Regions from separate parts of the Homo sapiens genome. Here all the other regions are linked to region 6. Evidence: promoter capture Hi-C in 16 types of primary human blood cells and fetal thymus (Javierre and others, 2016). All regions are on one chromosome and are shown on one strand. Each heading gives the region's core, a stretch centred on a gene start or on the middle of the fragment in contact. The rest is flanking DNA. Distances are from core to core; before and after follow the strand shown.

The links. Contacts are between HindIII fragments. The CHiCAGO score rates a contact against its expected background, and 5 or more counts as called.
Region 1: a contact is called between a fragment that was not itself captured here and the fragment with the promoter of DST in region 6, in 2 of 17 cell types (megakaryocytes and erythroblasts). The highest score is 7.8, in megakaryocytes.
Region 2: a fragment that was not itself captured here is called in contact with the fragment with the promoter of DST in region 6 in 3 of 17 cell types (erythroblasts, megakaryocytes and endothelial precursors); the score reaches 11.5 in erythroblasts.
Region 3: a contact is called between a fragment that was not itself captured here and the fragment with the promoter of DST in region 6, in 1 of 17 cell types (endothelial precursors). The highest score is 6.1, in endothelial precursors.
Region 4: a contact is called between a fragment that was not itself captured here and the fragment with the promoter of DST in region 6, in 2 of 17 cell types (erythroblasts and megakaryocytes). The highest score is 7.7, in erythroblasts.
Region 5: a fragment that was not itself captured here is called in contact with the fragment with the promoter of DST in region 6 in 2 of 17 cell types (erythroblasts and megakaryocytes); the score reaches 9.1 in erythroblasts.
Region 7: a fragment that was not itself captured here is called in contact with the fragment with the promoter of DST in region 6 in 3 of 17 cell types (erythroblasts, megakaryocytes and endothelial precursors); the score reaches 10.4 in erythroblasts.

Annotation. Positions count from the first base shown.
Region 1 is chr6:57,186,728-57,190,329 of GRCh38, reverse strand. It overlaps BAG2 (BAG cochaperone 2), which reads right to left. Exons shown (of 3, transcript NM_004282.4): 3 at 497-3,602. RAB23 (RAB23, member RAS oncogene family) reads left to right here. Exons shown (of 7, transcript NM_016277.5): 7 at 1-3,338. Among named protein-coding and RNA genes, the nearest start is that of BAG2, 16 kb to the right of the region's middle. The HindIII fragment of the contact is 2,733 bases long and covers 100-2,832 here.
Region 2 is chr6:57,166,670-57,170,066 of GRCh38, reverse strand. It overlaps ZNF451 (zinc finger protein 451), which reads right to left. Exons shown (of 15, transcript NM_001031623.3): 15 at 1-1,644. The coding sequence ends at 1,598. All of the region lies in intron 2 of ZNF451-AS1 (ZNF451 regulatory antisense RNA 1), which reads left to right. Among named protein-coding and RNA genes, the nearest start is that of ZNF451-AS1, 3.8 kb to the left of the region's middle. The HindIII fragment of the contact is 3,078 bases long and covers 491-3,397 here.
Region 3 is chr6:56,709,246-56,712,839 of GRCh38, reverse strand. All of the region lies in intron 5 of DST (dystonin), which reads left to right. Among named protein-coding and RNA genes, the nearest start is that of DST-AS1, 130 kb to the left of the region's middle. The HindIII fragment of the contact is 2,627 bases long and covers 114-2,740 here.
Region 4 is chr6:57,203,778-57,207,134 of GRCh38, reverse strand. All of the region lies in intron 3 of RAB23 (RAB23, member RAS oncogene family), which reads left to right. Among named protein-coding and RNA genes, the nearest start is that of RAB23, 17 kb to the left of the region's middle. The HindIII fragment of the contact is 3,567 bases long and covers 163-3,357 here.
Region 5 is chr6:57,127,493-57,131,208 of GRCh38, reverse strand. ZNF451 (zinc finger protein 451) reads right to left here. Exons shown (of 15, transcript NM_001031623.3): 5 at 2,369-2,480. The region is part of intron 2 of ZNF451-AS1 (ZNF451 regulatory antisense RNA 1); the gene reads left to right. Among named protein-coding and RNA genes, the nearest start is that of ZNF451, 39 kb to the right of the region's middle. The HindIII fragment of the contact is 749 bases long and covers 1,287-2,035 here.
Region 6 is chr6:56,952,653-56,956,261 of GRCh38, reverse strand. It overlaps DST (dystonin), which reads left to right and starts at 1,432. Exons shown (of 104, transcript NM_001374736.1): 1 at 1,432-1,855; 2 at 2,443-2,477. The coding sequence starts at 1,675. It overlaps BEND6 (BEN domain containing 6), which reads right to left and starts at 1,155. Exons shown (of 7, transcript NM_152731.3): 1 at 802-1,155. RefSeq lists a silencer at 967-1,656 and an enhancer at 1,818-2,449. The HindIII fragment of the contact is 5,182 bases long and covers 1-3,609 here.
Region 7 is chr6:57,148,117-57,151,834 of GRCh38, reverse strand. ZNF451 (zinc finger protein 451) reads right to left here. Exons shown (of 15, transcript NM_001031623.3): 10 at 3,142-3,718; 11 at 973-1,116. All of the region lies in intron 2 of ZNF451-AS1 (ZNF451 regulatory antisense RNA 1), which reads left to right. Among named protein-coding and RNA genes, the nearest start is that of ZNF451-AS1, 22 kb to the left of the region's middle. The HindIII fragment of the contact is 1,290 bases long and covers 1,378-2,667 here.

The DNA of each region.
Region 1 (3,602 bases), core at 217-2,716, 230 kb before region 6:
TATTGCTCTGCAGTGCTTTTCAGAATGTAGAGTGAGACCTCTGGTGGAAAAATTATTGCCCTGTGGACTCCTTTAATTTTTTTTACATTAGACGAAGCTTCTCCTGTTTGTAAAGGAATGCTATAAGAAATTTCAAACACAGGTTTTGCGGAATTTTAAATGCTGGAAAACATAAATGAAATGCCTAAATATATTGTTACAGATTTTAATACTGTGGATCAAGGAAAGATAGCAAGCATTCTTTTCCTGAAATTGGTCATGTAGCTTTTCTGCGAAATAGTATTGAATCTGAATACTTTCACAAAATAATACTGAAAGGTAAACCCTAAATCTTGCCAGACTGCATTAGTATTTTGGCATTGAAACTTGTGCAATATCTGTGTAATGTAGAATGTGGGGTGTGCATGCAGATGTCTGGTACTGGAGTAAGCTGAAGGTATGTGCAGTATTTAAGAAAATGTACATTCTAATTAATTCACTTATAAAACCATTTACATATTGTGTATATGTTTTTATTTTCAAATGATAAACTCTAGACATATATTTTGCAAAATGAGCTTGGGTTTAAAAAGTGCTTTGTGCCAAAAATATCATACCTAATTTTTATAGTGCTTTACTATCAGAATTTATATTGTTTATTATATCTTTTAAAAGCAGTAAGCAGTTTTCATCTGACAGCGTAGATAAAAGAGGAGTATAGGAATTTGAATGCTAGAGCATCTCCCAGGTGAGCCTTATTGCAGATCTTTTTGATATAGTCACCCATAAGCATGGTGAGCTCCTGCTCTCATAAGGTCAGCCAAAGCCCCTTAAGAAGGTACACAGCACATCTGCAGTCATTCAGGAGGTCCTGTGAAGTGTGGTGATGCATCTAACACCTTTTGCTGCTCACTGAGAACCCAGCTTTGAACTTACAAGATTACACTAACCATTTTTAAAGTGCACAAAAATATTATTATTAGTCTTAACTAAAATTACATATTTTATAATGCCCTGCAACTCTAAACCATCCTTTTGTTTACACATTTTTGTATGGTATTTTAAGATTATCAATCACTTCAACATTTCTATAACCTTGTTTGTATAGCACTTTCTCAAGAGCTGTCAGTCCCACATACAGAATCATTTCTTTTACAAAATGATTTAATATGTAATCATGTGTCAGGACATAAATTTTGTCACTTGGGACAGTAGCTTTCCAGCTAAGATAATTGCGTGAACTCTGTTAAAACTGATTATCACTCATCAATGGCTTTATTTTTAACCTATAAATAACCCCTTTCAATATACCTGGTTTTTACAGCATTGCAAAATCTGTAAAAATAACTTTTATTGGAAAATGTCATGAAGTCATTTTTCATTATTTGTACTAAACAATGTTTTATGTACTCCTTTTGTGTTTTATCTTTTGTTTTTCCATCTGTACTCCCCTCATCCTCCTAATGTTGAGAAAATCAAATTTCCTGGGTGTGTCCTTGTTAAGTGATCAAAAGTAAATGTTCTCTTTGCCATTTTAGATGGAAAAATAAAAAAAATTAAAAAGTAAATTTTTGCTTTTCATTATATTGAAATGATCTGGCATTATCTATTTCACAGTAATGTAAAATGCTTATTTTTATGTCACCAGTTGTCACCACTCCCATTGCTGATAGTGACATAGGTTTTGGGGGCAAAATTCAGTTCCTAACAAACAGTGGATACTGCTAATGAGTCATCTTTTCTACTCTCTTCAATTTTCTACTCTCTACTCTCCTCTTTAATTTTTGCACAAAATAATACTTTGCAACAAATAGTCTTTTGTCTTTATTGGCAGAAAAATCACTTGTTATATGTGTTCTAGTTAGTTCTTTTTCATGTTAGCTGTGTGGCTAAAAGCGTGTTACCTTTCTATATTTAAAAAAAGTAATCTCTGAGGATAGTTACAGTTCCTGTAATATAATTTTATGTACCTAGTTTTATCTTTTTTTAAATAAGAACTGAAGAGAGAGCTTTGTTACATATTTGAATTTTTAATTTGCACTGCTGTATTTTAAACCTAACCATAATTAGTCATTTAAAATAATTAAGTAGGCCTGAAAGTCAGCCATGTTAATTTCTCAATTTAATCAATTCTTAAAGCCTTCAAAAATTGACATTTTTTTTCCAAGACCCTTCATTCTCTTAAATAACTTTAATTTTATGAAACCATGTATACTAAAGAAAAACTTTTCCAAGATTCCAGGTGATTGTGCATTTGTGCTCTAATCTACTTTTTTAACATTACGGCTAATCTTTTGCGTAGACATATCGCTGTGGAATAACTGCCATATTTCAGAGTTCCTCAGGTTTCCTTTTCCTTTTCCAGTCTCTGTCTATGAATTAAATAGTATATAGAATGACCCATATAAGGCAATATAGTTAAATAAAACCAGGTTAAATGATTTCCTTTGTATCTGCCCAAAGTTGATAGCACACGTTACTTTTTCAAAATAAAGCTAAAACTACCAAAAAGAGGATGAAAACTTTTTCCTCATTATGGAGTGAAGTTCTAGGTGGTTGCTTTAGAAGTTGGCAGTGCAGTGCTCAGAAGGAACTCTCAATAAATAACATGTACTCCTTGGACCTGTGAGTTTTAGGAAACTGGACCTTTTCTGAAGACCTTAGAATAGGGAGTTGGCCTTAGGACCTAATGTCCCAACTTAGTGTTGGACCCTTTTAATATAAGATATTGTTAATTATTAGCATACTTTTCAAAACCTTTGAAATAGTTACTGCTAACCTGATAAAATGTTCCCATTAATCTATCATTAGTCTGTTTCTCTGAAAACAAAATGCATTGATGAGGTGAAAGCTTGTTCCACATGGCACCTACCTAATGAACAGGACTTACTCAGTTTTTAACTGTTAAGAATGTCACATGTACTATTGTCACTCCTTAGGTTTTCAGCTATAAAACATGTAAGTCTCTCATCATACAGATGAATTCATTTGCTAACAAAATATTTAAAACCCGCAGTAGACTCTGAAATATCCAGTCATCAAACTCCTGGCTAACTGGATGATTTGGCTATAATAATCTTTATTATTATTATTTTCATCTGTCTCTCGAAATATCTACAGTAGGATGTTAGTAAATGGTCTTTTAAAAGCAAAAAATTGGGGATAAAAGGAAAACTGAATTCCTTCTATATTTTTATTACTAATAAATAATGCTTTTGTAAATTTGAATGGAAAACCACTTGTATGTATTGCTATTTGGTTGCAGTTACACTCTGGAGCTTAATTTAAAACACTACTCTAAAAATTTCATGAAGGATGAATTCCAATAATCAGAAAATAAATGCATTTCAAAGCTAAAATTTTGTGTGATATGTATGATTGTATCAACAGTGTGGATCTAAATAGTAAAATATATAATGCAACTTCTTTAAAGATCAAAGCAACCTAAAATTATTTCATATTTCAGATACTCTGCCAATATTTAATACTCTCATTTTATTGAAAGTAGTGCTAACAAGGAATGGCAGGAGGGCTACCCTAAAATTATGTATTATATGCTAGGAATGGTAGAGAATTGAGATACAGCAAAACATACTCTATATCCACTTATAGTCTATATAAAA
Region 2 (3,397 bases), core at 780-3,279, 210 kb before region 6:
CCTTAATTATTCTCTACCACACACACCACAAAAGCTTCTTAATAGAGCATCAGTGTCCATCACACCTTTGTGTAGAATCTCTGGCAACAAGGTGCTGTCTCCTCTTGCCCTGCCCCCACATCTGCTTAACTACTCTTCTTTCTGGAATGCCTCTTTTGCTCCCATTTTGTGAGCTCCTGCAGATGTGTTTAAGGTCCAGCTCAGTGACTACCTCCTAGAGCCTTGCTTGACCACTTAAACATACAAACTAAAAGCACAATGTGGTCATTTCGGAAAGATGATTGATAAATTCTCAAGCCACAATGTCTAGTTTTTAAAAAATGCAAGCAGGGAGGAACAGAAGTGACATATCAAGAAATTAAAAACACAAATTATAGATTGAAAAGACTATAGTAATAAAAAAATTCAATTTCACACTAAAATATTTAGTGTTACAGAGAAGGAACCAAATTCTAGCCTTTATATTTTGTCTTAAATATAAAGAAAAGCTTTATATTTATAGAAATGTTTTTAAGTTTGGTAAATAATTACTACTAAAAATTTTTAGAGATAAGACATTTCTGGTTAAATAACATGAAGCATATACACAAAGATAATATGACAAGCCCTTCTTAGTCTTCTACTTATGTCGTATTTTTTATTACTCACAATGGGGCCTCAATATTTAAGAATTAAATATGTAATACCAAATGAAGGAAACTGACAATTCAGTGAATAACTAAACTGAAAACACTTCACATGAAATAAAAATTTAAAGAGTTAAGGAAGATTATTCCTGAGTAGGCTTTCAACATTATTTCTTGAAGAATATTATGTTTACACCAATATATAAAAAAGGACTGTTATGAAAAATAATTTTATGCAAATATTCTGACACCATTCCCTTTAACCAGGAGACCATACAAGTCACATAAAAGTCTAAGCAGGTAAAAGGAATGGAAATTGTTTCATTTAAATTATTTCTTAAAAATTAAGGTGTATTTTTTATTTTAGCAATGTGCTGCTCTAATTAAAGCAATAATTTACATATGCATGGCACCCACAAAGAACATTGCTGATAAAATTTTAAATGTTTCCATGATCAGTTTCCATTACCCTCTTCTAATAAACATAAACAAAGATCTCAAAGGTATTATATAATAGTGCCACATGAGAAGTAGAATTTATGGAAAACTTGACCTATGTCACCTTTTTTATATTCATTTTCACTGCTAAAAAAATAAACTAGCATCATTTGTACAGTACAAATAAAATTAAAGAACTAATGCTATTTGGGAAACAACTGTCAAGAGCTTTCCTTTTTTTTAATCCTTTAAATCTAAATATATAAATTCAAAGTTAACTGGGAAACTGTTACACCTATATTAGAATACATAATTTATATTTGCATGAACATGTATTCTATTTCTTCTGTACATGTTTGCACATTAGCACAAAAATACAAAACAAAGATCAGATTTTGAACATATGAAAGCAAAAACATGTTTTCAAATACATTTGTAATAGTGGATTTCTGGTCTCCTTTAGAAAACAAACTCAAGAATTCGTTATCTCAGTCTCTTCAAGGCCACTTGATGTTGTGTGGTAATATCTTTAATTACATTTCCTCAAGACTTCTTCTAATAGCTTCTTCTAATTCCACATCTGCATTAAAAAACATAGAATTTTAACACTTAGGGCAGAAAACTCAACATGTGCTGTATTTATTTAAGTTTCATCGACTGTATTCTTTTCAAGAAGGAAAGTAAAATCAAAATGGAAAAACACAGGATAACTTGGCAGTTTCTCTACTAAAAAATTGAGTATTTTGAAATATGAAAATCTAGACATGATCTTGAATTGAATTTTATATATGAACTTAGAACTTGCAAGTTAATTCCACTTAGGAATGTAGAAAGTCAACAAACTTTTAAAATCACTGACAGGTAATCATTTGTTTCAACATTTAAAAAAAAATCTGTATCACTTATTTGCTAAAAGACTTGAGGTGATACATATAAGACTTTAAACAGAAAGGCAACTCCATGAAATGACAAAATGTCACAGGCCATTAAAAATTTAGTTTAATTTTTAATTATACCTCAATAAAGCTGGGGAAAAATTAGCTTAAAGCATCCTAGCATCTAAGGTAGTGAAACTCATAGCCACATAAATGTCATCTGAGAAGCATATAATATATGCTGTATGCAGATGTATGTAAACTCATTTGACAAATATTTATTGAATGCCCATTATATACCAGGAACAGCAATGTAATAGTGAACAAGACAGACGTTATTGGGTTCACAATAGTTGAGTTCCATCTCCTCCTTGGGAATGATGCTAAAATCCAGGAGGGTGAAATTTGGTGTCAATTTCTTGGCCTTCACTAGCTTCTCACACCAGATTTATCTCATCCCATCTGGTCCACAGTCTCTCAGAGGCTACTTGGCTACAGGCACCAGTGATCTCCCTAAGATGCAACCGCATGTTCCTCTGATTGGGGGCACTAGTGTTATGTTGTCTAATTTAAAGTACAATAAACTAGCATGAACTGTGTATCAAGTTAAAGCTACACTCTAGGATCAGTTAGTTGCCCTTAAGATGAATTAAAAGGGATGAGGAAATGCAAAGAAAAGCCAAGACACTCTTACCAAAGAAAAACAAGGGGACAAGACTTGTCTAAGATATGAACACTTATTATAAAGTTACAGTAACTAATAATGTGCTACTAGTGCAAGAATAAATAGACCAAAGGAACAGCATAGACAGCTCAGAAACAGACCCATGCATATATGGACACTGGATTTATAACAAAGGTAGCACTGCAGAATGACAGGGAAAGGTCTTTTTAACAAATGATAGTAGGTTATATGTATATATGTGTGTGTGTGTGTGTGTGTGTATATATATACGAAATCACAACGTCTGTTTTACAATTAAAGTTATAAAAATCTTTGAACTAAAATTCAAAATTTGAAGTATGGTTTATACTAAATGCATATTGCTTTCACATCCTTATAAAGTAAAAAAATCATAAATCAAACCATCATTAAGTACAGCAACATCTATACAAAGATATCATACCTCCAGTGAGCTTATAGGGATTAAACTTGCCAGCTGAAAGACTATAAAAAACAAAAAGCAAGTATGGTCATGTGCTGCGTATCAACTTTTGGTAAACAGTGGATCACATATACAACAGTGGTCCCATAAGATTATAATAGACCTGAAAAATTCCTATTGCCTAATTATGTCATAGCCATCTTCATGTTGCAGTGCAACATATTACTCATGTGTTTGTGGTGATGCTGCTGTAAACAAATACACTATGTTGCCAGTTGTATAAAAGTACAGCACATACAATTATGTACAGTACATAACACTTGAAAATTATAATAAACTCTGGTACTGGTTT
Region 3 (3,594 bases), core at 178-2,677, 240 kb after region 6:
CTAGTGTGAATTTTGATCATGATATAAATTTAAATAAAACTAATTTAAAATTATTTAAAATAACCTTTGCATGATTTTTATTTTAAAGTATTTACAATTCTGTTTTAAAAGCTTTTCAGTAAAAGCTGGAATTTAAAAATATAGTGGAATCTCTTTAAAACAGTGGTGGTAAAGAATAAGACTGTAATGGTGTCATTATAGACTACCTGTGTCAAGCAGACTTTGTTACACCTAGTTATATTTTTTAAGTCATGGCACACAGATGAACTATGTCTAATTAGCTATTAGTATTATAATAGCATTCTACTTCGTTGTCATTATTTGTCTTTATATTACAACCACACATTTTCACTTATTTCCATCAAAATTTTGTTTCCTTGATTAGGTTTTCTCCTTAGACACGTTAAGTGATAATGACCCTTGCTTTCCCAGCTTTTTCTTTCTTTTGCCCAAATTATGAGAAAGTAGGAGGAGTAGGAAAAAGGTGAGCATAGTAAGGATATGGATTGGTTTCTCCTCTTTTCCTTATGCTGGTGTTAAAAATTGCTCTTGACATAGTAGTACTTACCATGATTTTTTTAAGGTGAAAAAGAGTTTAAAGAAAGATTTATATAAGTAATGAGCTAGGAGGATATTTGAAAAACCTGTAAAAGGTAATGCCCATATTCTCCTGCCAAACAGACAGAATACTGGAAAGAAGCATCCTTAGTCTTATCTAAAATACCTCCTCCTATTTTTTTTTTTTTTTTGAGACGGAGTCTCGCTCTGTCGCCCAGGCTGGAGTGCAGTGGCGGGATCTCGGCTCACTGCAAGCTCCGCCTCCCGGGTTCACGCCATTCTCCTGCCTCAGCCTCCCGAGTAGCTGGGACTACAGGCGCCCGCCACTACGCCCGGCTAATTTTTTGTATTTTTAGTAGAGACGGGGTTTCACCGTTTTAGCCGGGATGGTCTCGATCTCCTGACCTCGTGATCCGCCCGCCTCGGCCTCCCAAAGTGCTGGGATTACAGGCGTGAGCCACCGCGCCCGGCCACCTCCTCCTATTTTTAAAAGATTGCACAATAATATTTATTAGCTGTTCTTCTCTCTCTCATATGTGGAATGGGTAATGCTGATGCCTTTACAAGCCGACGCTCGTTTGTTAGACATTGTAGTGTGGAGTTTGTCAAGAATACATCTTTAATAATCTGTCCAAGGAACTGGACAGATACCAAAAAAGATATACTATGCAGAGTATATTGATTTCTGAATTTATTTCTCCCTTTCAGTTACATTACATTATAATTACCCCACACCAAGATCTGTACAGCTATGCAAGAGATGAAAAATCTACAGGTTCAGGGGAAAATGTGAGCAAAAATAGATTTTTTATCTGTTTTCTTGATAATAAAAGGGAAGATAGGAAAGATAGAGACCTAAACTCAAACCAAACCAGAACCAACCAACCCTAACCTCAGACTGTTACAGAAAAGTTACCTATTTAAAAATATTTAAAAATTGAAATAGCCTTTTAAAAAGGTTACTGCAACCATGGCGAAACTGTATAGAAGAGAATAAAAAATACCTAGGTGAAACAGTGACTAAAATACCCCAAATCTTAAAGTGTTTATCTGTAATATATTAATAAATGTTTTTATTTTATTTAACTACCTAGTTCCACCTTGTGGTGAAAGACTAGGAAAGGCCATTCAGTTTTTGCATTTTAATTGATTATAGATTGTCTACCCAAAAGCTAAAAAGAGAAGCCTTCTTTGTGAAGGAGTGAATCAGGTCCAAAGAAGTAGACACATTATTTGTACCACCTAGTACCAATGTGGATTAAAAAAAAAACTCTCTATTATTTTATCCATTAATACCTTAAGATGTGTAACTAATACCTTTATTTCATAGTTTAAAAATAACCTAAAGGAGATGAATTCTATGTGGCCTTAATGTTGACTTAACGTAGTACCTTAAAAAACCATAACCGCCTTTTTATCATGCCAAATAAGGATATTTCCCTGTTTGACTTAACTGCACCAATTTCGAATTTATAATAATTTAGGTAGAATATGAATTGTAGTTTTATTCTTTCACAACTCCTGAAGAAGTAGTACTGAAATAAATTTGTAATGAAAAAACAACTTTAGATAAGGCAGCTACCTAAGATAATACAATGTTTTTGAGCATTTTTTGTGTGTATTTTAAAAGCATTAATTTTCTTATCAATAATTAATATGTTAATATATTGATATTTATGTTACCTCTATTTTTTCAAGTAGGCTGTCTAAGGAACTCTCCCAGGAGAACCTGACAGCTAATTTTTTATGAACGTACTTGTTTGATGTAAAAAAATTGCATTGAAAAATATTTTAATTTATAATTTTCACTAAAGCAAACTATCCTTCTTCTCGTCACCCAGTTAGTATAAGCCAGTGAGGCGATCTCATTTGGGACAAGCCTTCTTTTATTATTTATGTTTCTTTCTAAAGATAGCTGATTGTTTTCCAGAATACTGTATCCTTTAGATATAGAACTTCTTTAAGAGCGGACTGTGAACCCTTTATGTGGCTGATGTTTTGCTCCCTACTGCAGAGCTCACTAGGATGCCTGCATTTTACCCAAGGTTCATTAATGGAATGACTCTTCCAGTTTCCTTTTTTTCCTGAGGGACCTTTCCTCTATTATTGTGTACAGATTGGGCTCTTGATTTTACCTGTGATTGATTTGTTTTTGCTTAAGATAATAGTTTACAGGGAAGCTTTTATATTGGTCAGAGATATTATGGCCTCATTCTGTTTAAAATTCGTAGTTTTCTTTGTGTAGGAAAAGTTCAAGCTTCTTAACCTGGGATATAAAGCCTCTATGTCCACCGGCGCATCGTTCCAGCCTCATCTTCCACCTCATGCTTCATTGACTTCACCACTGCTTTCCTTCCTTGCAACTCATATGTAGTTTTGTGTGTCCTTGCCTTTTTCCTTTGTTCTTGCTCCTCCCTCCACCTGCAACATTCCCATCTTCTTTGCTGGGAAGACCTCAGACTGGGTTAAGCTCCTCATAGCTTCCTGAGTGTTCTCTGAATGCATTTATTTTATACTGCAATTTCTTGCCTAAATTTCTTTCATTTCAGATTACAGGCTTCAAGAGGTGGCACTCTTATTATTCATCTTTGTACCCATAGAACTTAAAGGATACCCTGGCATATGACGGATGAATGCTCAATAAATAGTTTGTGACCTGAATTGAATTGCAGCTAAACAATAGTAATAAGTTTAAATAATGGGAAGTCAAATTTTTGTGAAATTTGTCTAGATTAACATCAACCACTATAATGTCAGACTTTTAAAAAAGGAAGTTTAAACATTCAGCAAGCAGTTATATAATGATTCTCTTTTCTTCAAAGTTGAATTTGATTTAGCCTATATAAAACCAAACAGTTATAGGTTAACAAAAGGAAATTTTCAGTGTAGTATTTTTGATAAGTTAAGCCATTTAGGTAATACAGACCTGGCATGAGCTAATGTGTTCTCACTCCAAAATAAATTTGAAATATTGTCCATGTCATCGCCAGCATCTTGTTTAGAATTTTTGTTGCCCATAGAGTGTTTTCTAGTCTA
Region 4 (3,357 bases), core at 697-3,196, 250 kb before region 6:
TAAAAGGCTAAATTAAACTTCCAAATGGAACTTAAAAGTTTCCTTTAACATTTTCTTATAAAATTTTGCCCTTTTCTTTTGGAATTTAAAACACCATTTTCAGTGTTCCTGTAACTCAACTGCCAATAGTGATTAAAGTGAGAGAACACAGTAACAAAAGCTTGGTGGAATACCATGTGGCATTATAGCCTGTTGATGCCAAGTAAATATTAATTGATCATTCATATTGACAGGTATTTAATACTCTGCATTTCGCAGATGCTGTGGGAAATAAAAAGGCACAACTGATATACTGATTATCCCTTCTATGATGTCCCTCTTTTCTGAACTTTTCACCGTGTTGTAATTAAAACTTGTTTTCTAAAGACACAACTTCCTCTGCTGCCTTCTCTAAGGGAGGCTTTTTACCCATATCCCTGCATACTCACATTCCTCAAGACTTAAAGGCTGTTCGGCAGAGGTTGTCTTGTTTCTCACTGCTGCTTCCACACCATTCCTCCTCTTTTCTCCTTCCAAAACCTCGGCACCTTGAAAGTCCAGGTCATGAGACTTTTACCCACCACTAATCCCCCTGCTTGCTCTGGTCCATCAACTTCCTTTATGCCTCCTTTCTGATAACAGTGGCATCTGACTCAGTTTCTTCTCCATAATTGTTTGGATTACTTTTTGAAAATTCAGCCTGTTGCTCATTTCCTTGTTGTTTTCAAGGCCAACAATTGTTTCATTACCCCAAAATCTAAACCTCTATAGTCTCCTACTCCCTGACCACTACTGGTGGCTTGTGGCTTGCTAACTTTAATATCCAGACGCTGTCTTGAAACCATCGAGAGCTTCTCTGTTCATTGACCCTACCACTTTTTAAATATGACCTTCCACATGGCTTTACTTCTTTCCTTCTTCAGCTTAGTTTTTCTAGTCCTGTAAGCATTTGCTTGCAAGGACCTTTAACTCCCAGACCTGCGCTCTCTGCATAATACTTGCTCAGCAAAATGCCCAACCCAGTTAAACCCGACTATCTACCAATCTGCATCCGAGCACCTGAACCATATAGAGAATATCAGACAACCATTCAGACTGAACTTTGAAGCTAACATCACATAACCTTAATGAGTACATAGTGCTGCCAGGCACTCTCAGTGTTTTTTACTCAAGTCTCTGTCATTTTCCAAAAGAGCTCTTTTGTGTTTTCTCTTGCCTTAACTTTGGGAATCCCTTCCTCCTCTCCACTCTGCTGATTTCTTTGCTTCACTCTTCTTTGAGAAAATAGTCAGTGAAAACCATTTTATCCTTCCCACTACCAAATCACTTTCGTGGTTAAAACTCTTCAGCATCATATACACAGGACTTTACAACTGTGTTTCCCCTCGTCTGTCCAGCATCATCTGCTGATTCCTCACTTGTACTTCACCCTTGAGAAATCCCCCATTTTTTTCTTTTCTTTTTACACTATGCCTGGAATGCTTTCTTGTCTCTCTTGACCTTTTGCCTTCAGGTTTAACATCTCAGAAGTCTCTGTGAAACTTTCTGTGGCCCTCATCCCTGAACAGTTAATAATTTTTTTTAGCTAATTCAGTATGTTTATTGCATTTATCACTCTATGTAGCATTTGCATATTTATTTTCCCTAAGAGATTATGAGTTACTTTAGCTTCTGGCTTATGGAGTGGCAGGGTTTTTTGTCTTTGTCTCCCCAGCCCCATTGCGTAGCACCTGTTGGCTCAAGTGAATTCAGTTGACCTTAGGAGACAGTATCATTTTGGTTAATTTTTTTATAAAGTGAAATTCTGCTCGTTCATCACACAGTCTCATTTTACTTATCAGATGCTATAACTTTATACTCTGACCTTAAGTAATGGATGAAATTTTATTTTTATATATATATACACACACACATACATACACACACACATATATACACACACTTAATATATGTGTATGTATGTAATATGTATATATGTAATTAATATAGTGTGTATATATGTGTGTATATAAAGTATATATGTATAGATGTGTATATATACACACAGTGTATATATATTTATAAATGCAAATATATGTATATGTATATATACACATATTTATAAACAGATGTATATATACACATATACATATATGTATGTATCTATGTAAACATGTCTGTACATATGTACACATATGTATGTGTATGTGTATATACACATATATCTATATTTATAAATATAAATGATTTCACTTAAAGGTATTTGCTCTCTGAACTAGAAGCCCCAGGAAAGTAGGATCTACCTTGTTTATAGTTGCCCCCATGACTGTTTCTCTAGATTTGAAGTTTTATTCAGAAAATGTGTATTAAGTGTCTCTGTTGTTCTAGGGATATAATAGGCATAGTAAACCTTGCCCTGGCTTCTTTGTCTTAACTTGTATTTATATTCATGTAATAACATTGCTTAGAAATATATCTGAAAAGTTTCCTTTAAGCTAATTATCTTTTTTACTTCTTAAATCTTTTGTTTTCTGCTTTTAAATCTACTCTTTGGTATCATAAAAATTAAAATATATTCTATCTTAGTATGTAGAATGCTAGTAGTTGAATACTAAACAGTCCCAAACAACAGATGATATGGAAGCAGTTATGAATTATTTTTTCAAAGTCTCTTTAAACATCCTGTATTGAAAGATACAGGTTTAATGAAACTGAAATAATAGTTATGTATACAATGGAAATTCTTCTGACTTCTTCATGGAAGTCTTCTTTAATGTGTCACTTTACCCAATTTGAAAGGGAACCTATGTTTGTGTGTCCTGGATTATCAGAGAAGCAGTACTTGAAAATAGAATAGATATATTGAATAGCAGTATACCAGTATGTGTCTCTTGAAGAAATCTATATATATGAAAGTTCCAAGTGACAGTGTTAATGAACTTTTAGGTACAGTATCATATAAACACATAATTTCTTCTTTTAGACAGGATTTACCACTGATTTTATTGAAGTAGCTTGCTTATTTACAAACTTACACCAGTTATATAAAATCGATATACTTGAGAAATTGGGTGAATTCATGTAACTTTTGAATATATAGCTTATTTTTTTCGCTTTTGAAAATGTAGGATTTATTGTAATAATGACAACTAAGGTTTCATGATTGTACTAACATACAAATGACCAAAGAAGTTGCCTTTCTAAATTGGTACCAAGGAAACTTGACTTCCACTGCCTGCTCTAAAACATATTTTGGTTTCTTGCCACCACTACTTACCACTCTATTTACTGTGTACTTTAAGGCTTCCCGTCCACAGTAGCTTTGGTTATTCTCTGTGGCTACCAGTTTGGATCCTGAGCACCTGTATCATGGTCTAAGGTTGAGAATTATGTTTTTAC
Region 5 (3,716 bases), core at 412-2,911, 170 kb before region 6:
CAACATTAGAATAATTATAAATAAGGTACTTAAAATACTTCTAATGAAAGAACTGAATTATAACAGCTGAGTACTGTATTTTGAAATAGATTGAATGAGTCCTTTAATGCTACTGAGAAGTAGAATCTCACTCTCTATAATTAAAGAGAACTGTGATTCCTCTCTATTCCCCAGCTATATGCTCTTAAAGGATCTCAGCACTCTCTAAAGCCCATTTATGGAATAGCACCATACCAAATATAGCCCAATACTACACAGCTGTTCAAGCAATAGATTCCAAACTTTATTTTTACATTGCCTCAGAGACCAAGCAAAAAGCTGAGCCCATCACACAAAAAAGATCATAACTACAGACCTTAACTCCAGGCTTAAGCTTATCAGCCATCAAAAAGCCAGTACTGAAAGGCAGAGAAAACACTAATCTTGAAAGTACCATAAAGACACAGCTAAATAACTCATTTGATCCCACTTGACCTGCTCAGGGAAATACATAAACAGATGCTCAAGATTCATTTTACAATGCATTATAATATTCTGACAACCTGGAGGCCAGATATTAAGCTTGAAGGGCATATTACTGGCCCGACTACCATTCTGTATAGGACTTGAAAGTGTCAGACTCATGAGATAATTTTTAGAAGAGATCTAGAGATGATAAAGTCTTCTAGTTCTAGTCCATTTTCCTATCCACCTAGGGATCTTTCCCAAAAGTACAGATGCCCTAGAAGAATCTCTGGAGATAATAAGGTGTAGGCATCTGTTTAAAAGGTCCCAGAATATTCTGACGCAGCAAAGATGACACCACTGAGCTAGTCATTAACTTCTTCCACTGAGAAGAATGTACATGAAGAGGGATTTTTAAAACTAAAAGCTTTCAAAAAACACCCCAAGAGGCAAAACCATTTACCATATTTTCTATGTGTCTTTTGCCAAAGTAGATCTGGAGTGCCATATAATTTTTTTGTTTAATAACAGTCAGATTTGGAGCCCAAGTTCTAGGCTTCCTTTCTGTGTTCATTATGCAAATATTTATAGCCTACCTCTATAAAAATTCAACCAACATTTATTGAGTATCTCTATGTTGAGCATTCTTTTAAGGAACTGACGCTAAAAAGTATTAGTAAGATTTGGTCTTTGTGCCCAAGAAGCACATAGCTGGGTGGAAGAGACAGACATATAAACGGATCAATCGAACATAATAAATACTGTATTAGTGAAATGAATAAAGTATTGAGATCACAGATGGCTGAGCAACCAAACTTATATAGAATAAATCTAGATAAGCTTCTCACATAATTGGACATGATATACAATAACCATATTCACTCAGCAATCCCTAATACTGTATTATTTGTTGGCCACGTATAAACCCCACAGGCAAGTAAGAAGAAAACAAAGAAAAAAGGTTTTTGGGGGCAGGAGGGGAGTTTGCGAGGCACAGGCAGGTTGATAAGGAGAAAATATAGTTTCAGGGGGTGCCAAGTGTCTAAAACATCGATTATGTCAGGTATCAAATGGAATGAACTGCTAAATACCAATACATGTAAATTATTAGAATTCTTTTATAAGTGGCAATTTGATTCCATTCAAAGCAAAGCCCTTGAAAACTAACTTTAGAATCCAAGATACCTAGGTTCAACAAAGTTAAGCATTGCATGCATAGATATTTCCATGAACTTTTGTAATTAAACTTTGTTGGATTAAATCCACAGCTACAGTTTCTGTGGATATCCTAACTCTTTAAAGGCTCAGTAGATATTCTTCAAGACAAGACAGGAAAGTTGTCATGGTGGGACTCTCCTACTGGCTCTTAAAAATTCCACCAAATTATCCGGTGGAGTAAGACATGTTCCACAGCAACTCTTCAAGGAATCTCAGATCTGCAAAGAGTTAGTAACGAAGAAGCTACCCAATGTTTTGACAAGTCTATGAGGATGCTTCCTTATTAAATATCTACATAGGCTGCACTGATGAATAAATAAATAAACATGAATCCTCTAGATCTCAGTTTAAATTCCATTTCCTTAGAGAAGCTTTTTCTGACCTCAAATAATCTGTTACACACCTCCCATGGACATATGTGCTACTTCATGCAATAACTATTAAATATATAAATGAATAAATGAGTAATATCTAATGAGCTCAGGTACGACCTATATTGCTTATACTCAAATATACTTGTGCCAAAGAAGAAAGACAATGGGCAAAGCAGGCCATTATAAAGTAGGCCATTATGAGGTGATATTAGTATCACTGAAACAAAATTTAATATCTTATATGCTTATTAGCAATAGCATAAAACAGACGTACTTTCTGCCTTAAGGCTTTGGGGAAGCTAGGTAACCTTAGTGTAATTTCTAAAGAATACCTGGCATTTTTAGCCACTGGTCCACACACAGTCTTGCTGCTTCTGTATCAGAATGTCCTCGAATAAATTCCAATTCTTGTAACCCATGAGCATGCTGAAAATCAATTTTTTCCTGAAGACATTAAGAAAAAACTCAATTAAGATTACTACCCTGTTTTCCTTGAGAAAAGGATTTTGACACATTAGTGATCAGAAAATACTGATTACTTTTTATCCCCAGAACTCCACATCTAGAAATGTATGACAAAGAAATACATCAAAATAAAAATGCACGCTCTAAGATGTGTATACCAGTGTTATTGCACAAAATTTACTACAACCTACACCCCTAACAACAGGGTATGGTTTAAGTAAATTATGGTATGTACATTTGATGGACGTCATTAAAAACATTAACCAAATTTTTCAAAGGTGTGGAAATATACTTTGGATATCAAGTAGGTCGCCAAACTGTATTAAACAAATGAGGCAAAATATAAACAAAGAATAATTTCAAATCCATGTGCAACTGTATCTGCAGAGGAAAAAAAAGCCTGAAAATAGATGTATTAAAAGTTATTAAGGCTACCTCTAGGAATTTCTATGTAAAGGATTATTTTCATTTTTAAAGTTTTATGTATTGTTTCAAATTTTCCATATTTAATCTGAAACATACAGAAGGAGCCTAGTAAGTATTTGTTCACTGAGTAATATTAATAACATAACTCATTAGCACTTAATATGTGCCAGTGTAAAGCATTTGTTGCCATCTAGACCAAGGGGTAACAAACTTTTCCACAAAGGCTAGTTAATATTTCATTATGGCTTTGCAGGCCATAGACTCTTTACTGCCACTACTCAACTGTGCCATTGTAGCAGGAGAGCAGCCACAGACAATATGTAAACAAGTGAGTGTAGCAGTGTTCCAATAAATCTTTGTTTATAGCAGGCAGCAGGCCAATGACAATGCTGAACTAGATGCTCTGTATTGCTAAAAGCCTAAATCTTTCTAGTTATATTATCCATAAAACTATTTGTGTATTTTCCAATCATGTGTATTAAAATTAATACTTTTTGGCCACTAACCATGTGTGAGGCAGTTTTAAAAAGACTTTAGATTTTAGGTATTATTGTTCCCCTTTTATGATGAAAAACCTGAGGTACACAGAGGTCAAATAAATTGCCCAAGGATATATAATAATGTCAGAATTCAAACTCTGGCAATCTGATTCTAGAATTCATGCCCTAACGAGTATAATCATACTGCCTCTCAAAAAGATTTACATGTACTTCAAAAGGGATCAGAGTCAGAAACACTGGATTTGTAAGATATAAACCATAATAATGTATGGCCTAGTTATCAATGTAA
Region 6 (3,609 bases), core at 183-2,682:
TCAGTCTATTAAATATTCCAAAAAAGAGGCTAATACAGTTGTTATAAGAAACTCCGCAAATGCAGTCAAGTGTTACCTTGTCACTATAATTAAAGTTTTCTTATGCGAGTAAATGAAACAAACAATCCAGCCCCACACAGGGAAAGCCAGCATTGCCTTGGGGGCAGCAGAACGCGGCACAGCACCGCCCGCCAAGGCCGCAAGATGCCGCAGAATGACTGCTGCAGCAGCCGCTTCCTGGCCAGGTGGCCGTGGCCGTCCGCAGAAAGGCACACTGCAGCGCTCTCGCTATACCTTCCGTGCTGGCATTGCATCAGTGTTAAATCCCCTGGCCACCAACTGCCATATACTTTTTGCTGGTTATGAAGAAACGTGGGGAGGGGACAAAGGGGAGACAGAGTGTGCCTGCAAGTGTGAGAGATCACTATTGCCTCACACTCCCTAAAAAATTTCTCCCCCAAATGTTTATAAGCCAAGTACCAACTTACTTCATCTGCCAGGTCCCTAAATCTGAAATCGCCTTGCCCTTCAAATGCACTAAATGAGTCAGGGTTTTAGGGCAAACCCAGGGATACAAGAAGATCGAAAGTGCCCAATTCTTAGCTGCGAGATAAGCACCAAGTTTGGGGTGGAAGAGTTCACCTCTGCCGACCAGAGCGTACTACCCCGGAGCGCTCCTAGTTTAGAGAGGCTTGGAGAGGAGTGGGCCTCCCGTTCCTGGAGTATCCCAATTCCCAGGGAAGGCCCTTCCCGGCGCTCGCGCTTCAGAGTGCGAGGAAACCCCCACAAGCAATAGCTCACCCGGCTGCATTCTTCAAAGCCCCAACCTCGGGGCGGGGCGCAGGGAGGTGGGAGGTGGAGGGTAGCACCGCCGGGAGGCTCCTGTCAGCGCCTCTCGGTTTTCCCCCTGGCTCCTTGGCGCCCCCTGACGACGGGCTCCGCAGCAATTTGGCCGAGGGAGGCTGGATAGGCGGAAGCTCCGGGTGTCCGGGAAGCTAGAGGCACCCGGCCAATGCACCCGCGGACGGCGCGGACTGGCGGGCGGCCCCGCGGGAGGGCGCTGGGCTCTCAGGCCCGGGTGCAGCCCGCGGACGCCGCCGAAACCGCCGCAGCCATGTCCGCGCGCCCGCGCTGCCGCAGCCTGGCCGTGATGTCATCAGCCGAGCCCCCGCCGCGGCGCCCCATTCCCGCCCCCCGCAGGCTGCCGCGGCTGCAGCCTGAGCGCCGCGTCCCCGCCCCGACCCACGTGCGCCCGGCTTCTGGGATGCTGAGGTCGGCGGCGGCCGCAGGACGATGCGCGGGGCCCGGGCGGCCGCGGCGGCGGCGCTGCTCCTCCCCACTCGCCGCGTCCCCGGCGGGGCTGCGCCCGGGGGCTGCGCACGGACGGGGGCGGGGGCGCCTGGGGAGGGAGGGGAGAGGATCCCAGCCGCCGAGTCGCAGCCTCGTCGCTGTCTGCTGAGTCATGGCAAGCGCTCCCCGCAGCCCTGGATCACTCGCGTAGCGCGGCTGGCGCGGGGTGCGCAGCCATTGGGCTGGGCGCGGGGCCGCGAGCGCCAGGCATGACGCGCTGAGCCGCGCTCACCCGTGCCCGCCGTCCCGGCGTGCGCCCAGCGCGGGTGCCTGTGCCGCCGCCCTCCAGCCCCGCCGTCGAGTCGCCCTCGCCTCGCCCGCACCATGATCGCCGCGGCTTTCCTCGTCTTGCTGAGACCCTACAGCATCCAATGTGCCCTCTTCCTCTTGTTGCTTCTGCTGGGCACCATCGCCACCATCGTCTTCTTCTGCTGCTGGCACCGCAAGCTCCAGAAAGGGAGGCATCCGATGAAATCGGTCTTCTCGGGTCGTTCAAGAAGCCGAGGTAAGACACGCCGCGACGGGTTTCTGCGGGCTACCAGGAACAATTAAGCCGATTTGGAGAGTGAAGCGCGGCTCGCTCCCTTCTCCTCGGCTGCCCCTAGCCCCATCATTGCCCACTCCCCAGGCTGAGTGCGTTTCTTTAACGCCCCTTGCCCTTTTTGCCGTCACCTCCGCCCTCCAGTCTCCCAGGTTTGAATAACCACGGCGATGCCGAGGGCAGGGAGGGGAGGAAAGAACTCAAATTTTTAGTCAGTTTGCTAAAGCCTTAAGGGTAATTTGAGCGTAGTCCGGGGCTGCGCCAGCCTCGCCTTCACGCATCCTTCGCTGGAGCGTAGGGGTAAGAAAGTAAGGCATGGAAACTTCGGGGCTCCCCAACTCCCCCAGAACTTTCATGCAAACTTCTCGCGGAGAAATCACGTAGAGACCGATGGCCCCAGGACTCCTCCTCCCTCCCCCAGGATGTCCCACCGAATTCCAGGAGTCTGCGATGTGCTTTCCCAACCCTGGTCTCCCAGGTAAGTCATGAGTCACTCGGTAGGTGAAGAACAAGGAGTTAAATGAAGTCTCATTTATCTCTTTTCTCCCCAGATGCTGTTTTGAGATCGCACCACTTTCGTTCTGAGGTAATTTATTTAGCGCGCACGCTCAAGGTCAGAAGAAGTTCTCTTTCCTGAGTACCAATATTAATTATATGCGTGTTAAGAAACCAGTAGGACACTGAATGACGAACATGCTGTCCCCTAGCCGAAAGTGGCATGTTTCCTTTTAAGTGATTTCATATTAGTGCCCAGCGAACGGTTTTAGCAAATTTCTTGTGTAGTGGAGCTGTTGTACAAGAGGGGAAAAGGCAAACCCTAAAAGTGCTGCAGACCTTAAAAAACTTAGCCACAGGGTGGATGTCACTTGAGTTTACAGTTTATATTTTGCTGGTGGAAGTGTTTTCTGGGTGCTGTCAGTTGACTCTGGTTGTTCACTTGGATAAACGAAGAGGTTAGTGCAGAACAATTTGATCCATATGCATTTCATTTTCGATTTTCAAGTTTACATTTCTGTTTTCTCCTAAAGCTCTCCATGTTTTATTGGGGACCATCTGATGATTTTTGCAAAGCGATGATGGTAGTGTGTGCTTAAATGCTTGTGCTAGTCTCCACTCTCAAAACGTGGACCATCCCTCTAGGGCAAGTAACTCCTAATCACTGCACCCAGGAACCAGCTCCACTGAAGAAACACAAGCGCTCCTTGACCTAGGATTTCTTTAGGAGTTTTCAGGCCAACCTCCACTTATCCTAAGATAATTTCCCCTCTTTTTAGGAAAGTTGCACGCCGCCAGGCTTGGAGGTTGCTGCTTGGTGCAGTTTACTCATGTTGGCAAAGACTTCATAGTTAAACGCCCTCCATTTACCTGAAGTTATCTTGCCTTTCATTTCATTAGTTAATCAGATATTTTATGCCACCCTAGATGTTTTATTGGGTTCTAGTTGCTTAAAAACTTTAACTGTATTATTGCAATATCATTAAAATGTTGCACAAAGAGTAATTCTACTGTATATAGCCCTGGAAGGTGAGAACTCTATTCAGTTTAGGATTCTTGAGAGGATAAGTGAGGTAATCAGAGGTTCCATTCCTGGCTTTACATTAACTAGCTGTGTGATACATCTCGGTGCCTCGATTTACCCATCTGTAAGATAGGGCCATTAGTACCTTGCAGGGTTATGGGAGGGTGGAGGAAATTACAAGAAATTGTGTAAAGAAAAA
Region 7 (3,718 bases), core at 773-3,272, 190 kb before region 6:
TAACTTATCCAGGTCAGTATGTTTCTATCTTTAATCCCAATCTTTCTCTTTACATGCTATTTCCTATCAAACACAAACAATAGCAGATTCTCTGTAAACCAAAGAAGCCTCTCCCCCAAGTTTGGTCAACAATTTGTAAAGAGGTTTAGATGAAGCTGAACACTTAAGAACAGCAAGGATGAACCGAAGAGGCAGTTATGGCATGTTGAAAATAACATTAGTCCTATAGCTGAGAGGCCAAATAATTCTGCTATTTATTAGTTTTAAAACTTTGAGGGAAAAAAAACAAAAACAAAAACAAAACATCTGCTTCTTTGTATTTTAAAAGGGATAAAACCATAATAATCAGTAACCATGTTAGTACAAAGCCAAAGCACCTGACACATTTTAGGTGTTGAATAAAGGCTTTTTCAATCTGTATCAAAAGATCCATAAACTTTTTTTTTTTTTTTTTTTTTTTTTTAAGACAGAGTCTCACTCTGTTGCCCAGGCTGGAGAGCAGTGGTGCGATCTCAGCTCACTGCAAGCTTCGCCTCCTGGGTTCACACCATTCTCCTGCCTCAGCCTCCCAAGGAGCTGGGACTACAGGGGCCCGCCACCACGCCCAGCTAATTTTTTGTATTTTTTTTTTCTTTTTAGTAGAGACGGGGTTTCACCATGTTAGCCAGGATGGTCTCGATCTTCTGACCTCGTGATCCGTCCGCCTCAGCCTTCCAAAGTTCTGGGATTACAGACGTGAGCCACCGCGCCCGGCCAAAAGATCCATAAACTTTGAGTCACCAGATAGAGCTAACATTTACCACAGAGGCATGTAAAGAAAACGATTCTAGCAGAGTAACTATAATACAAAAGAACAATATTCCAATTATGTTCCTATGTTCTATCCAGGAAGGTTTAAGAGGAGCCTTTTAAACTGAACTATATTCTAAGAGGTGGGAAAAAGTTTTCTTTTGTTTTTCTTATTAACCGTACCTTGAAAGCCCCAAATAAATGTTCCTTGGTTTAGATGCCCTGGTAGATGACCAAAAAAGTTTGACCAGTTATCAAAATCTACAAAGACTATATGAGTCATGGTTCGCAGGTAATCCAAATCTGGAAGCTCAACAATTTCTTCCTCTGAGAAGAGAGAAATATCAACATGAGTTCAGTAAGAATTTGCTAAAATCATTCTGATTTCAAGTCCAAAAAGTATTAGAAGCCTAATATGCAAAAATACTAACCTTGAATGTTACTCATTTCTATCTAAACCTTTTTGTGAAATCCAAATCTGTACATGACACCATTTACACTTAAATCAGATAAAAATAATCTGAACATTTCACCAATTTTGGTTATATATCCTTCTTGCAAACATTTTCTTCCAACAACTCTAAAGCTTGTTAAAAAGTCACTTATACAAGGAATTTTTTTAAAAAATTAATGTACTAGAAGAACTAGAAAACCAAGTTTTAAGGTTAAATAAGCAAAAACTAATACCACCCATATAAAATTCCAAGGTTACCTATTAAGAACATTTTCACCACCAGAATTTGGTTCTTTTCCCAGTCTGGACTGATTTATTAGTAGCCCTCTAGTTCTAGGATTAAACACCCTAGAGAGCAGAAATAAGATAACCTAGAATCCTGCTGCCATAAAGCAGTGCTAGAAATATGTGCCAGTGGTACAGAGACACCTCCCCCTATAAACACATCTTCTTGGTTCTCTCAGATTCTTCTTTCACCTTCCCCCATGCCCCAACTCTCATTCTCCCTCCCCTTTATCTTGTTTCATACTTTTCCACTTTGACAAGGCCTTAAAGTTTCCTGTGGTAACAATGCAAACTTTAAAATGTTATATTATTTAAAAAATGAATAGTTTCTATTCTAATAGTTCCTTCAAATATACTACTGCCATTCCCTTCCATTTCCAAGCCACCTTACGTCTTTTCTCTAACTTCTCGGTAATTCTAGATTTAGGTATTGCATTTTCTATCAAACACAGACTAACACAAATTCCAAAAAAAAAGTAAACAGAAGCGCAAAAGAAAGGCCTAACATAAAATGGTGTAACCAGTGTTTCACTGTTTAGAGTTGACTAGGTAGCTCATGATTTAATTCTTTACCACTGAAAACATGCCATGACTAAAGGTGATGTTGAAATCTACATATGGTATAGAGCAAGACTCTAAAAATTCAATAGTTCATAAAAATACATTACTGGCCAAAATTTTCACATATTCTCACTGTACCCAAATATGCTACATTGTATAACTCACCAAGAATTAGTATTTATTTAAAAGAATATAGACTTAAGTCAGGTGTGGTGGCTCACACCTGTAATCCCAACACTTGGGGAGGCTAAAACAGGAGGATTGCTTAAGGCCAGGAGTTCAAAACCAGCCTGGGCAACATAGTAAAATCCCATCTCAAAAAAATTTTACAAATAAAAGAAGATACACTTAAAATTATACTCTAAACAAAAACAAATTATACTTCTAAACAAAACAAATTATACTTCTAAACAAAATAAAAACATAACACCTGCCTAGACTTACTTAATCCTATCATATGGAAGAAAGAAAGTCTGGAGTAAGTACAAACAAGGAATTCATATTTCAATTTTCCCCCTGGTTTCCTGCTACCACTTTAACTCTACTTCTAATTGCTATTTTAATTGTATGTTAAAGCTTTTCTTCCAAGTTAATCATAACAAAAATATACAAATGCTGAAATGACCTTTAAAATGTCTCACACTAAAGAATATGGCCAAATAGAAACAAAAAGAATTCACGTGATTTATCTTTTTAGTTAACCCAAATATTACAAGAAAAATCTAAATGATATTAATACTAGGATAACTTTGAAATCTAACTTTCAGAAAAACTATCAACTTCCTTCATCTTCAAAATCTCCACACCTTTTGTAAAATAAAATGATATCTAAAATATATATTATTTAAAGCCAACATATACTCTGTCCTCGTAAGTTTAGAAAGTGGATAAATGTAGTAGTAGGAATACAAACCCCTAAAATGTATATACCATAATAATTAACATACCATCAAGAAGTTACCCTGTTTCTTGCTTCAAAATTGAATCGAGGTGGGTACATTGTAAGTTTCAATATCAGTATATGAAATTTGCATAGAGCTATAAAGCCATACCTATATTCTGATAGCTTAGGTCATTCTCAACTCCTTTCTCCATGTCTAAACTTTTTGAATAGTTTATTGCCTGTTTCAGTTTTCTCTCTGTATGTGAGGCACTAGCAGTAAACTTGTACAGGTTTGATTTTTCAGATCCAAAATGAGCCACACTGGGTTTCTGTAAGAAGCAATGTTTTCTATGGAAATGCTGCTGTGCACTCTCAGGATCATGAAATGCTTTGGTGCAGGTGCCACACTTGATTACATACTGCTGCTCCTCCTCATCACTCTTTTCTTTGTGCACTTGATGGATATGAGTGTTCATGTCGGTTAAATTCTGTGCTGTTGCCGAACATAAACTGCAGCGAAACCACAGTTTTCCTTTATCCAGCATGATTTGGAGACATCTGCTATAATCTTCTTTTCTGTTGACTTTACAGATGTAACTCTCACGGCAACCACAAGTTAACTGGTTACTGGTCTCTATTACTGGAAAATCATCTTCGGTTTTAATTGAAGTTTCAGTTTTTTCTGACACAAATACATAATCTATGCTGTGGTGCTCCTCATAATGACTCAGAAATGCTTCTTCCAC